Linked DNA regions of Homo sapiens: region 1 is linked to region 2. Evidence: promoter capture Hi-C in 16 types of primary human blood cells and fetal thymus (Javierre and others, 2016). All regions are on one chromosome and are shown on one strand. Each heading gives the region's core, a stretch centred on a gene start or on the middle of the fragment in contact. The rest is flanking DNA. Distances are from core to core; before and after follow the strand shown. Region 1 holds the start of OR8U1 (olfactory receptor family 8 subfamily U member 1). Region 2 holds the start of OR5T3 (olfactory receptor family 5 subfamily T member 3).

The links. Contacts are between HindIII fragments. The CHiCAGO score rates a contact against its expected background, and 5 or more counts as called.
Region 1: the fragment with the promoter of OR8U1 here is called in contact with the fragment with the promoter of OR5T3 in region 2 in 1 of 17 cell types (neutrophils); the score reaches 5.8 in neutrophils.

The regions. Positions count from the first base shown.
Region 1 is chr11:56,372,773-56,378,133 of GRCh38, forward strand. OR8U1 (olfactory receptor family 8 subfamily U member 1) reads left to right here and starts at 2,852. Exons shown (of 1, transcript NM_001005204.1): 1 at 2,852-3,781. The coding sequence starts at 2,852. The coding sequence ends at 3,781. The HindIII fragment of the contact is 6,958 bases long and covers 1-5,361 here.
Region 2 is chr11:56,249,762-56,255,622 of GRCh38, forward strand. It overlaps OR5T3 (olfactory receptor family 5 subfamily T member 3), which reads left to right and starts at 2,493. Exons shown (of 1, transcript NM_001004747.2): 1 at 2,493-3,461. The coding sequence starts at 2,493. The coding sequence ends at 3,461. The HindIII fragment of the contact is 3,630 bases long and covers 295-3,924 here.

The sequences.
Region 1 (5,361 bases), core at 1,602-4,101, 120 kb after region 2:
ACTCTGGAACAAGATCCTTTGGGAAAGAGACACTAACAAAAACCACATAGTCATTGCTATCCACACCTATTATGAGGAGAAATACAAGTATCCTCTTCCCAGGTAGAATAGAGCATATTTCAAGATGGTGGGCTTTGACTCATTTATAGCTAATACATTTGCTATATTAACTCGAGATAAGTATTTTTAAAATTAAAGAGTGCCGTACAATAATTAGAGAAAAATCATTACGAGTACATTTTATAAAATAAAGTGTTTTCTCTGGTTTTATTTTAATTTTATATGTGGGTATGCATTGTGATTTTAAAATATTTCTTATTAGATTGAAGTAACTAAAAATTCCTGTTTAGAATTTTTAAAAATGTTTGGAAATAAACAGTTCCGTTATTGACCAAATTATACATTCTATGCCCAAACTCTGCTTTCCCCTCTTGCAGTAGCTAGAAATTTTACCCAGGATTAGTGGGGCATTCGTTAGACATTACTAATATGTCTCTAGAGATATTTTCCAAAGAAAATAATATAACCTAGGGGCAAGGGGAAGAAATATTCAAATGTCATTCCAAAATTAATCTTTAATTCCCCATCATCTAACATCTAGAAGAGACTACATTAGGAAATGAATAAAAACAGCGTGATTTTCAACCACAAAGGGTCTAAAGTCTATCAGGGGAAGATATATGGAAACAGATGGTTGTAATAAGAGATGAAATATAGATTAGGTATGTCTAAAATGTTTTTGGAAGACAAATATGAAAGCTGTTAACATGGGAAGGAAAAATTAAGTAGCTCTTCATAGAAGTGTGATATTTCAGCAGAGCTTGAAAGATAAGTAGGAGTTTCCATTTTCACTGTCTATTTTTCTGTAAAGAAAGAAACTAGGAATGGCAAGATTAAAAATAGAGAAGTATGGAAAGGCATTTTGTTATTGACAAATTGAGACCAATCATTAATTGAAACAATGGATGCTCCTGCTGACTGGAGAGTTGAGTGGAACCGGGATAATAAAAATATTCAGAGATGATACTATAAAAAGTCACATGTCCTTTCAAATATAATGCATGCTCTCCTTTGGATTCAAAGTAAAATAGTTTGTGTGCACACGTTTCAGGGTTTTGTGTTTTACAGGTGGAGAAAAACGAATGATAAGAAAAGAGACCAGAAATATAGGGTAAAGTTGGATAACGCTTGCTTTCTTTCCAGCCTGGACTACTATCTATTCTTTCACTGCTCTATCTTCAGACTCTATGCACGCTCTGAAAATTAATAGTCCCCACTATATATTATTGAATAAAGAACTGAATGAATTGAAATAACCTTCTACAAGAGTAGCAGTTAGACAAAATCCAGGAAAATGTTAAGGATAGAATGTTCAGTCTTGGTTACAGATTACAGTGGGTGGTATAGCTAGGAACTGTTAAAGGTAAGTTGCTTATCTACTCATGTTAGTGAAAATGGTTCAGTGTGTGGGGACTAGTGTGTAGGTTTTGAAACTGTGCTTGTAACTACTAGTAGATCTTAAATCCACTTTTTAGGATCCCAAGAAGCATTGTTTGAATTAAATAGAATGGAACAGATTACGCTAGAAAACGAAAGAATATGTAATACAAGCGGATGTCAGGGAAGCAAAAGTATTATTCTCAATATATCTATTAGTTCCATGCCATCTTATAACAAGTATTTATTTCTATAGTTTGTCATAAAAAAGTTTGAGTCTGAAAGTTAGTCTTCTTGAGAAGGGTTTGGTCTGAGCAGTGCAAAGACCAAAAATTCTCTTTTTACTTACCTCCCTTTTCTCTTTTCTTTTTCCTATTTTAACTCAAAATTGACGTTCAGTTTTTAACATGCAATTAGAGATTTGGAATTTATGGGTTCCTATGTCCTTATCCATCAATTTCCATGTTGCTATAATTAGACATTAATGTTCCATCTGTATTAGGGTTTTAGGATATCTAGTATATACTTACATATTGCATATCTAATATGTATCTTATACATATAATAAATATAATTTATTTAGAATAAAATTAAGGTAAATAAGTATTTTTTGAAAGTTACTACTTACCACATTATGTTGCTCAATAAATATGTTTATTAATACAAAACACAAATAACTGAAATGGATTCTTTGATTAATTGAGCAGAAGTAAATACTCAAGAGCTATTAGTAAACTCTGAAGAACAGTGAAGAAACACAGGCTCTTATTTTATTTATATATTTATTTGCATAGTAATTTTCAAAGCGTGAAATTTATAAGTTTTTAAGGAAAGCTCTATTTTCCATTACTAGATATAATGGTGGGAGAGAGAAGAAAGAGGAGTTGAGAGACATGATATTTGATACTATTTGGGTATTCAATAATTCAATTTTAAAATTATCCAAAATGAATAAGAAAATGATGATACACAACATTAAATAGAGTAGGAAAACAAAAATTAATGCAAAAAATGTAATTAAATCAGTTTTTTAATAAAAGATAAAAAAGCAGACATAAACTGAATGTAAAGAAACATAAACTTCCAAATCTCTTAGAAAGCAAATATCAATTTTACTCTAATTTACAGGATAAGATTATGTGAGGATTCATTCCCTACATTCATGTAAGTTCATGCTTTAGATATAAAGATGTTTATACGGTGTTATATTCTTTTTGCTCTCCATCACATTTCCAGAATTCCAGTATGCTAACAATCATTATATTAGTTAAATAAATTAATAAATAAATCTAATTAATTAAACTCTTTACAATACAATAAATATAAAAACACCACATATAGGATTTACAGTATTAAAATATGACTTAGACTTAACTCTTTTCTCTACTTCCACATTTAGATGGCCAGAAAAGATATGGCTCACATCAATTGCACCCAGGCGACAGAGTTTATTCTTGTGGGCCTCACAGACCATCAGGAGTTGAAGATGCCCCTCTTTGTGCTATTCTTATCCATCTACCTCTTCACAGTGGTAGGCAACTTGGGTTTGATCCTACTCATTAGAGCGGATACAAGTCTCAACACACCAATGTACTTCTTTCTTAGCAACCTAGCTTTTGTGGATTTCTGTTACTCTTCTGTCATTACACCCAAAATGCTTGGGAATTTCTTGTACAAACAAAATGTTATATCCTTTGATGCATGTGCTACTCAACTGGGCTGCTTTCTCACCTTCATGATATCAGAATCCTTGCTACTGGCTTCCATGGCCTATGACCGATATGTGGCCATTTGTAACCCTCTATTGTATATGGTTGTAATGACTCCAGGAATCTGCATTCAACTTGTAGCAGTTCCTTATAGCTATAGCTTCCTAATGGCACTATTTCACACCATCCTCACCTTCCGCCTCTCCTATTGCCACTCCAACATTGTCAACCATTTCTATTGTGATGACATGCCTCTCCTCAGGCTAACTTGCTCAGACACTCGCTTCAAACAGCTCTGGATCTTTGCCTGTGCTGGTATCATGTTCATTTCCTCCCTTCTGATTGTCTTTGTCTCCTACATGTTCATCATTTCTGCCATCCTGAGGATGCATTCAGCTGAGGGAAGACAGAAGGCTTTCTCGACGTGTGGCTCTCACATGCTGGCAGTCACCATATTCTATGGGACCCTCATTTTTATGTACTTACAGCCTAGCTCTAGCCATGCCCTGGACACAGACAAGATGGCCTCTGTCTTCTACACAGTGATCATTCCCATGTTGAATCCCTTAATCTATAGCCTCCAGAATAAGGAGGTGAAAGAAGCTCTGAAGAAAATCATTATCAATAAAAACTAGAGTTTTGTGTTTATAAAATTAAGAAAGTAACTTGAGTAAGGAAAAATGGACTTCTTTCATGGTATGATTTTTTTCCCAGTATAAGTTATCAGGATCCTTGTTTCTCAATATGTGATGTATACATATATTTTCGCTGTGTAATACAATTTTCTAGAGAATTTCTCTTAGAACGTTAGGTATAAAAGTAACTATAAGAATTTACAACACTTCTCTTATTTTTCAAGTGGAAAATATATTAAAATTATTAATTTTCTTGCATAATATTTTATACCAATTTTCCTATTTCTCAAATGAAGAATGCATAAAAAGTCATCATCAAGATATATAATTAGTTATGTGCAGAGCACAGACAAAAGTTAACTCCTCTCCCCGTCCATCCCCAGTTCAGGATTCTGAAGCTGTATTTACAATATCCCACGTGAAAAATAAAGACACATAGTCTAAACATTTTCTTTCTCAATTCCTAATTTTTTGAAAAAATACATGACAATATAAAAATGTCCTATATTTATGCATTTAACATATTGTCTTTATTAATACAAAGAGTACTGCTTTCTAACCTCACCTATGTTACTGACTGAATGTACCTTCTACTTCCTGGAAGTCTTGTTCTGTCTCTGAAGACTAACTCTCTAAGAGAACTGCTTTTCTTATGCCTACAAGATCTCATTATACTTTTTCCCAAAATGTAAATAATGTAACTCAGGGATAGAATTCTGGAGGGAGGAGGGGAGGGCATTATAATTCAAACAAATATATTCACAGTCATTGAAACATCATAAATCATTTTTCCAGTAACAAGGATTATATACAGTTGTGCACAGCAAAGCTCAGGTAAGCTGGTCATTATTTATTAAGGTATAGCTTATAACTCAATGAACCCAGTAGGCAATGTAGCCGAGTGAATAAGCACATGCCTTATAGTCAAAGTATGTGGTTAGATCCCAAACATGTCATTGTGCTCTAGGTATGCTCTTATGAGTTTACTCATCAGATAAATGAGAATAATGTTACTCAGTTTAGAGACTTTTATAGGACTAAGCAATATGGAAAGGGGTAATAATTCATGGTAGGCACTTGAGTATCATTTCCCTTCCTTCTATGAACCTGCAGACTTGAGTGCTAGTCTACTAATTATAAGTCACATAAACGTGAGGGAGCAATTTATAAATGAAGATTATTGTACACCACAGCTGATAAATTGATAATAGAGAGAGAGAGAAAGAGAGAGAGAGAGAGAGAGTAATCATTTTAAAGTATCTTTTTAACTTTTATTTTAAGTTCAGGGATACAAGTGCAGGTTTGTTACATATGTAAAGTTGTGTCAGGGGGTTTGTTGTACAGATCTTTTCATCACCCAGGTATTCAGCCTGGAACCCATTAGTTATTTTTCCTGATTGGCTCCCTCCTCCCAGCCTCCAGCCTCTGAAAGGTCCCAGTGTGTGTTGTTCCCCTCTATGTGCTCATGTGTTTTCATCATTTAGCCTAAGAAAGATTTGATTTTATGAATCATGCCTATCATTTAATATTTTTGCTTCACTTTTTTTCATCTGTAGCCTGTTTCCATACTTAATGGCAAA
Region 2 (5,861 bases), core at 1,243-3,742:
GGACATAACATTTCTAAAACTATGGCAGGTTACATCAGGGTTGCACTGTGGTTCTATTAAAATATTGATTTTGTAAATTCCTGTTTATATTATTATATAAATAAAAATTTTAAGTCATATATGTATGCATTATTCACATGTAATTAAAAAATTATTTATTAAAATTGATCTTAATGCATCTCATAAAAAAGAACTGTGCAATCACCTCATGTTTATGCAGTTGAATGAGGTATATGTGAAAGTTTCATCCAATCTTACTTATCCTTTAGTTTGGAAGGAGAAGTAATTTTTCCAAGCTTATGCTGCTAAACATGACATTTAAACATAGAGTTTTAGAGTCCAAATATAATTCCCAGTATTCTACAGTTGCCTTATTTCAGATATCTTAGGAAAATAAAGTCTGGAATTGTAATGTAGCTGACCTTTCTCCTCTATGTGGTGGTAAACATGTATTTTGTAATGGACTCCTTTGGTAGATTATTAGCACATTTTTCAAAATTCACTGGCATTTTTTTTTTGAATCGTGCTTCTTCTTATCTGGCTAATTCCTGTTTGTTCCTGACTCTTGTCAGTAAACGTTTGTATATATCCCATTGATTCTTCTAACACAGAAAGAAAGAGAGAGAAAGAGAGAGAAAGGAGAAAATATAGGAGAAAGAGAGGATAGGAATTTGTATAAGAGAACTATATTTTTTATGACTCAAAAATACATTAATTCATATTTAAAATATTTATTGATAACTTTATAAGCTATTTTATTCACATAACACAAACAAAATTACTTAATATATTTGTGTATGTGTGTGTTGTCATGAGTAATATGTAAGTAGTCTGGATTTACACAGAAAGTGGAATTTAACTGAATTATATCTTTTGCTGTAGAATTTTCTAAGAATCAAATGAGAATTTTTGTTTCGTTCTGTAGTCCCTCATTTATGAGGGTATTTATTTTGTATATTAAAAAAATCTTCCACATGGATCTGTTAGGACATTTCTATAATAATATATATAAACACTTGGCCTTTTTTTTTCTTTCTAAAAGTGGTTTTAGTCTTATTTGTTCATTCTCTTCTTAATGTGTGGTCATCTTAACATGACAAAATTTTGGTATGTCTCACATCATGAATATAAATCATTTGTAAGTCACTGAATTCAGAATGGACCTGCATATGACAGAGTTGTCACCCCTTTTAAAACTTTCATAATCTATGACATGATAAAAGAAAAACAAAGTCACCTTGCTTAAATCTCCCCTCTAATTTTACCTCTAAATTTAGTGTATGTAGTACTAAACCGTTTCAATAACAGGTTTTCAGTCTAGATACAGAAGTCCCTGTAACCTTGTTACCTTTTTTCTTTTAATTATTTATTTATTTTTGGTTGTGTAATTGTCTTTCTTCATACTTGTCAATGTGAAACAGAATGATACCATCAGGAAAGAAGTCCAGAGGACAAACACTACTTTCTTGCAAATATAGTAATGTTATTTTTTAGCCAGATATTCTATAATTTTTATTAGTTATTATTGGTGATTTTTATTTCATAGTAATTTTAGAAACTCTAAAAGCAACTATAATATACTAAAAGAATGGCCATGATTTATTTTTAACAGAAATATAAAATAAAATAAAATAAAATACATCCAAGGACTTTGCAAAAATAACAAACATATGAATTATTAGTAAGATATATCTCACATTGTTATTAAGTTGAAATTTAAAAACAGTTATGATAAACAAGGTACAGAGGCCAAAATTTGCCAACTAGGTGATATATATTTCAGGAAGAAAAAATCCTGAAAATAAAACACATTGTAATGTTTGTAAAGGTACGTCTATCTCCAGAATACAGTCTGCTCTTCTATGTAATGGAACAAGATAATTGCCAGAACAGAGGACATGAAATGGTTTTATTTAAAAAGGCTGCTGCATGCGACAAGTTGAAATGTATGTCTGACTTATCCCCATTTTCTAGTCATTTGGAAGCCTTTTAAATTAAATAGTTTTGATATTTTTAAACATTTAAATTCAACTGTGCTGTGAGTGTGGTTTCTCTTATTTTAAAATTGTGAACATTTACAAAAGACATTTCATGTACTTCATCACAAATCTAAAAGTGTACTCAAGTGTGTGCTTTCCACTATAACATATTTAGTTTTAAATATTTCTACATTCAGCAATCTTTGTGAGCTTTAGGACATAATATGAGAGGAAGCAGTAAAAATTTCAACTGAAAATTAACTGGAAAATAAAATCACTTTAATTAGCAGGGTTTTTTAAAAACATGATAAATTTAGCCAAGAAATTAATTACATATTTTTTTTCCTTTTACTTATACAGTGAAATTCATCTATTTGGCTCCAATTACTTCATCATTGTCTATTCCATTACTATCAGGGAAATTATTATGCCCCAAGAAAAAAACAAGGATACAATTGAATGGACTCCACTTTCACAGGCTATAACCTTTATAACCTGCAAGTAAAAACTGAAATGGACAAGTTGTCATCAGGTTTGGATATATACAGGAATCCACTGAAGAACAAGACTGAAGTCACCATGTTTATATTGACAGGCTTCACAGATGATTTTGAGCTGCAAGTCTTCCTATTTTTACTATTTTTTGCAATCTATCTCTTTACCTTGATAGGCAATTTAGGGCTGGTTGTGTTGGTCATTGAGGATTCCTGGCTCCACAACCCCATGTATTATTTTCTTAGTGTTTTATCATTCTTGGATGCTTGCTATTCTACAGTTGTCACTCCAAAAATGTTGGTCAATTTCCTGGCAAAAAATAAATCCATTTCATTTATCGGATGTGCAACACAGATGCTTCTTTTTGTTACTTTTGGAACTACAGAATGTTTTCTCTTGGCTGCAATGGCTTATGATCACTATGTAGCCATCTACAACCCTCTCCTGTATTCAGTGAGCATGTCACCCAGAGTCTATGTGCCACTCATCACTGCTTCCTACGTTGCTGGCATTTTACATGCTACTATACATATAGTGGCTACATTTAGCCTGTCCTTCTGTGGATCCAATGAAATTAGGCATGTCTTTTGTGATATGCCTCCTCTCCTTGCTATTTCTTGTTCTGACACTCACACAAACCAGCTTCTACTCTTCTACTTTGTGGGTTCTATTGAGATAGTCACTATCCTGATTGTCCTCATTTCCTGTGATTTCATTCTGTTGTCCATTCTGAAGATGCATTCTGCTAAGGGAAGGCAAAAGGCCTTCTCTACATGTGGCTCTCACCTAACTGGAGTGACAATTTATCATGGAACAATTCTCGTCAGTTATATGAGACCAAGTTCCAGCTATGCTTCAGACCATGACATCATAGTGTCAATATTTTACACAATTGTGATTCCCAAGTTGAATCCCATCATCTATAGTTTGAGGAACAAAGAAGTAAAAAAGGCAGTGAAGAAAATGTTGAAATTGGTTTACAAATGAAGAATATATTTAAAATTGAGTAAACCTGAAAAAAATGTTGAGTGTCAGAGTTCACATCTCTATATTTTAGTTAAAGTATTTGCATATCAAAGAATAGTTTCAAAAAAGCATTAAGCAGCCTGCCAATGCAGCATTTTTCAAATGTAAACAAATTGCATCACATATTTGCCAATTAATTTGTTCAGAGATCTATATTAAATATTATTTGATATAAATATATTGTTATTGTTACCAACCACACACTACTAACAACAGCTTTCACAGTAAGTAAAAATCAGTTACACACTTATAACTAGTAAGTGAATCCTACAGAATCCTGGGAATTGATAAATGCTTACATGGCTGATAAAAAGTTTTTGCATTCATTGTGGAGTTACTTCCTCAATCTATAAGCCCTAAGAAGAAATATCCAAATTTTACTTTACTTTCCCTAAATGTGCCTTCATAAACTGAGATCTACTCAAGCTTCCAAACATGCCTTTTGCTGTGTTTATATCTACATCATAAATTCTTTCCACAATTAAATGCTTTCCTTGCCCCTTTTCAACCACAGAAGCTGATTGTAGTCATTGTGAAACTATATTGGTTGTGAATGCTAATATTTATTGAGAGTGTTCTGAAGGCTCAGGAAACACTATACCCCAGGAATGAAACTATGACATATGTATAAATGACTGCTCTAAGGTCTGACAAACTAGCATATCCTTGCTCACTTCGTAGTCCTGCCATTATCTTCTATCTACTTTACCTGTAAGAAATGACTGCAATGTCATCCTTCCACAAAATTTACACCTAGTGAGCAAGCCCACAGAATGGAAATTATTTTGCTTTACCTCTACTCACATCTGGCTTTACTTTACGTATTCTGCTTTAGTAAGTTTTGTTAAAACATTTATTTGAAGATTCATTAAAAGTGGAAATTAATTGTTTTTTCAAAAAACACACACTTGTCCCTCCAAGGATATTTTTATGTGAATTAACCAGAATGATCCAATCATAACATAGTAGCCACACTGAAAATTTCAGACATCAGTTTCTAATCTTTACTAATCAATTATGCAAAGAGAACCCAACCCTCTTTTTTTGAATAAGCAAATGCTTGCAGTCAAAATCTGTACTAAATTTCCTCTTAAAAAAATAAATCTATTTTTAGATACAAAACCCTGATTACACTGTAGACAAAATTTTCTTAAAAAAATAAGCTATTTGAATTACAGAATCTTAAAATGTAGTTTCCTGTGTATGATCTTTTGGGGAGAATGTTCTGGAAGAAAATTTAATATGCTTCAAAAATGTGTCTAAATAAATAGCTGTCTCACAAAATTTAAAATTTCTGCAGAATTCCAGAATCATTTATTTTTTTGAGGGTTTTTCAAATTATGGTGTCAAAATTGTTAGGTAACGTTTTAGTCAAGGTTGCTATCTCTTTTTTTGTTTTGTTTCTCTTTCAAATTAGCAAAAATAGTCATTCTTTGAGAAAGGAATAGGCGAGCATTAGGTAAAATGATGCACTGACATATGCCTAAAAATATCTGGTTAACAATGCATTCAACAAACTCATTCAGAACTTGTCAAGTTAACCATCATGAAAAGTTCACTATCTCTCTTTTTATCCTAATCGATTAGAAAACAAATGGTGTGAATAAGCAGTCTCGAATGACCTGCTATTTGTTCAGGTCAAGGTGAGAAAAATGGTATATTTAACTCTCAAGTCAATAGAACATTTTGTTACATATCTCAGCTCAATTACCTTTCCCCCCAAAAGAATGATTTGACTCACTATGACCCCATGGAGCCTCTCTCACTTATCACAGTTGCCATTTAGCATGTGATGTTGTGATTTTATAATATATTATCCAGATCTACCATGATGCTGACATTGTAACTTGCATAAAAACATGCATTGGGCATATTTGTCCTCAAAATTGTATCCCTGAGTCCTAAAAGAGTACCTAGAACTTATGGTTTGCTGACAAAATATTTATTAAATAAATAGTGAGTACATGAATGAATTATATTTAATACTAATAATTAACATATGCTTATCAGGTACTGGACAATCATGTAAAAGTTTTTACTATATTAACTTATGTAATTCTCATAACTTCAGGAAGTGGTTGTAGTAATATCTTTTAACAAAGTTGAGGAAACAGCAGCACATAAATTTTAAGGAATTTGCTCAATGCCACATAGCTCTAAAGGGTGATGTCAGGATTCACATCTAAGCTGTCTGGTTACAGAGTTCCTGTTTTTAAGCTTGTTATACATGGAGTGAAAGAACAGATTTATCTTTTCACTTTACCAACTTTATTAGTTATCCTCCAGAGAGCATTATTGAGAATACTGAAGCTCCTCATTAAGTCTGTGGCAGAAATAAGAAGAAAAAGGAATGCATTTTAA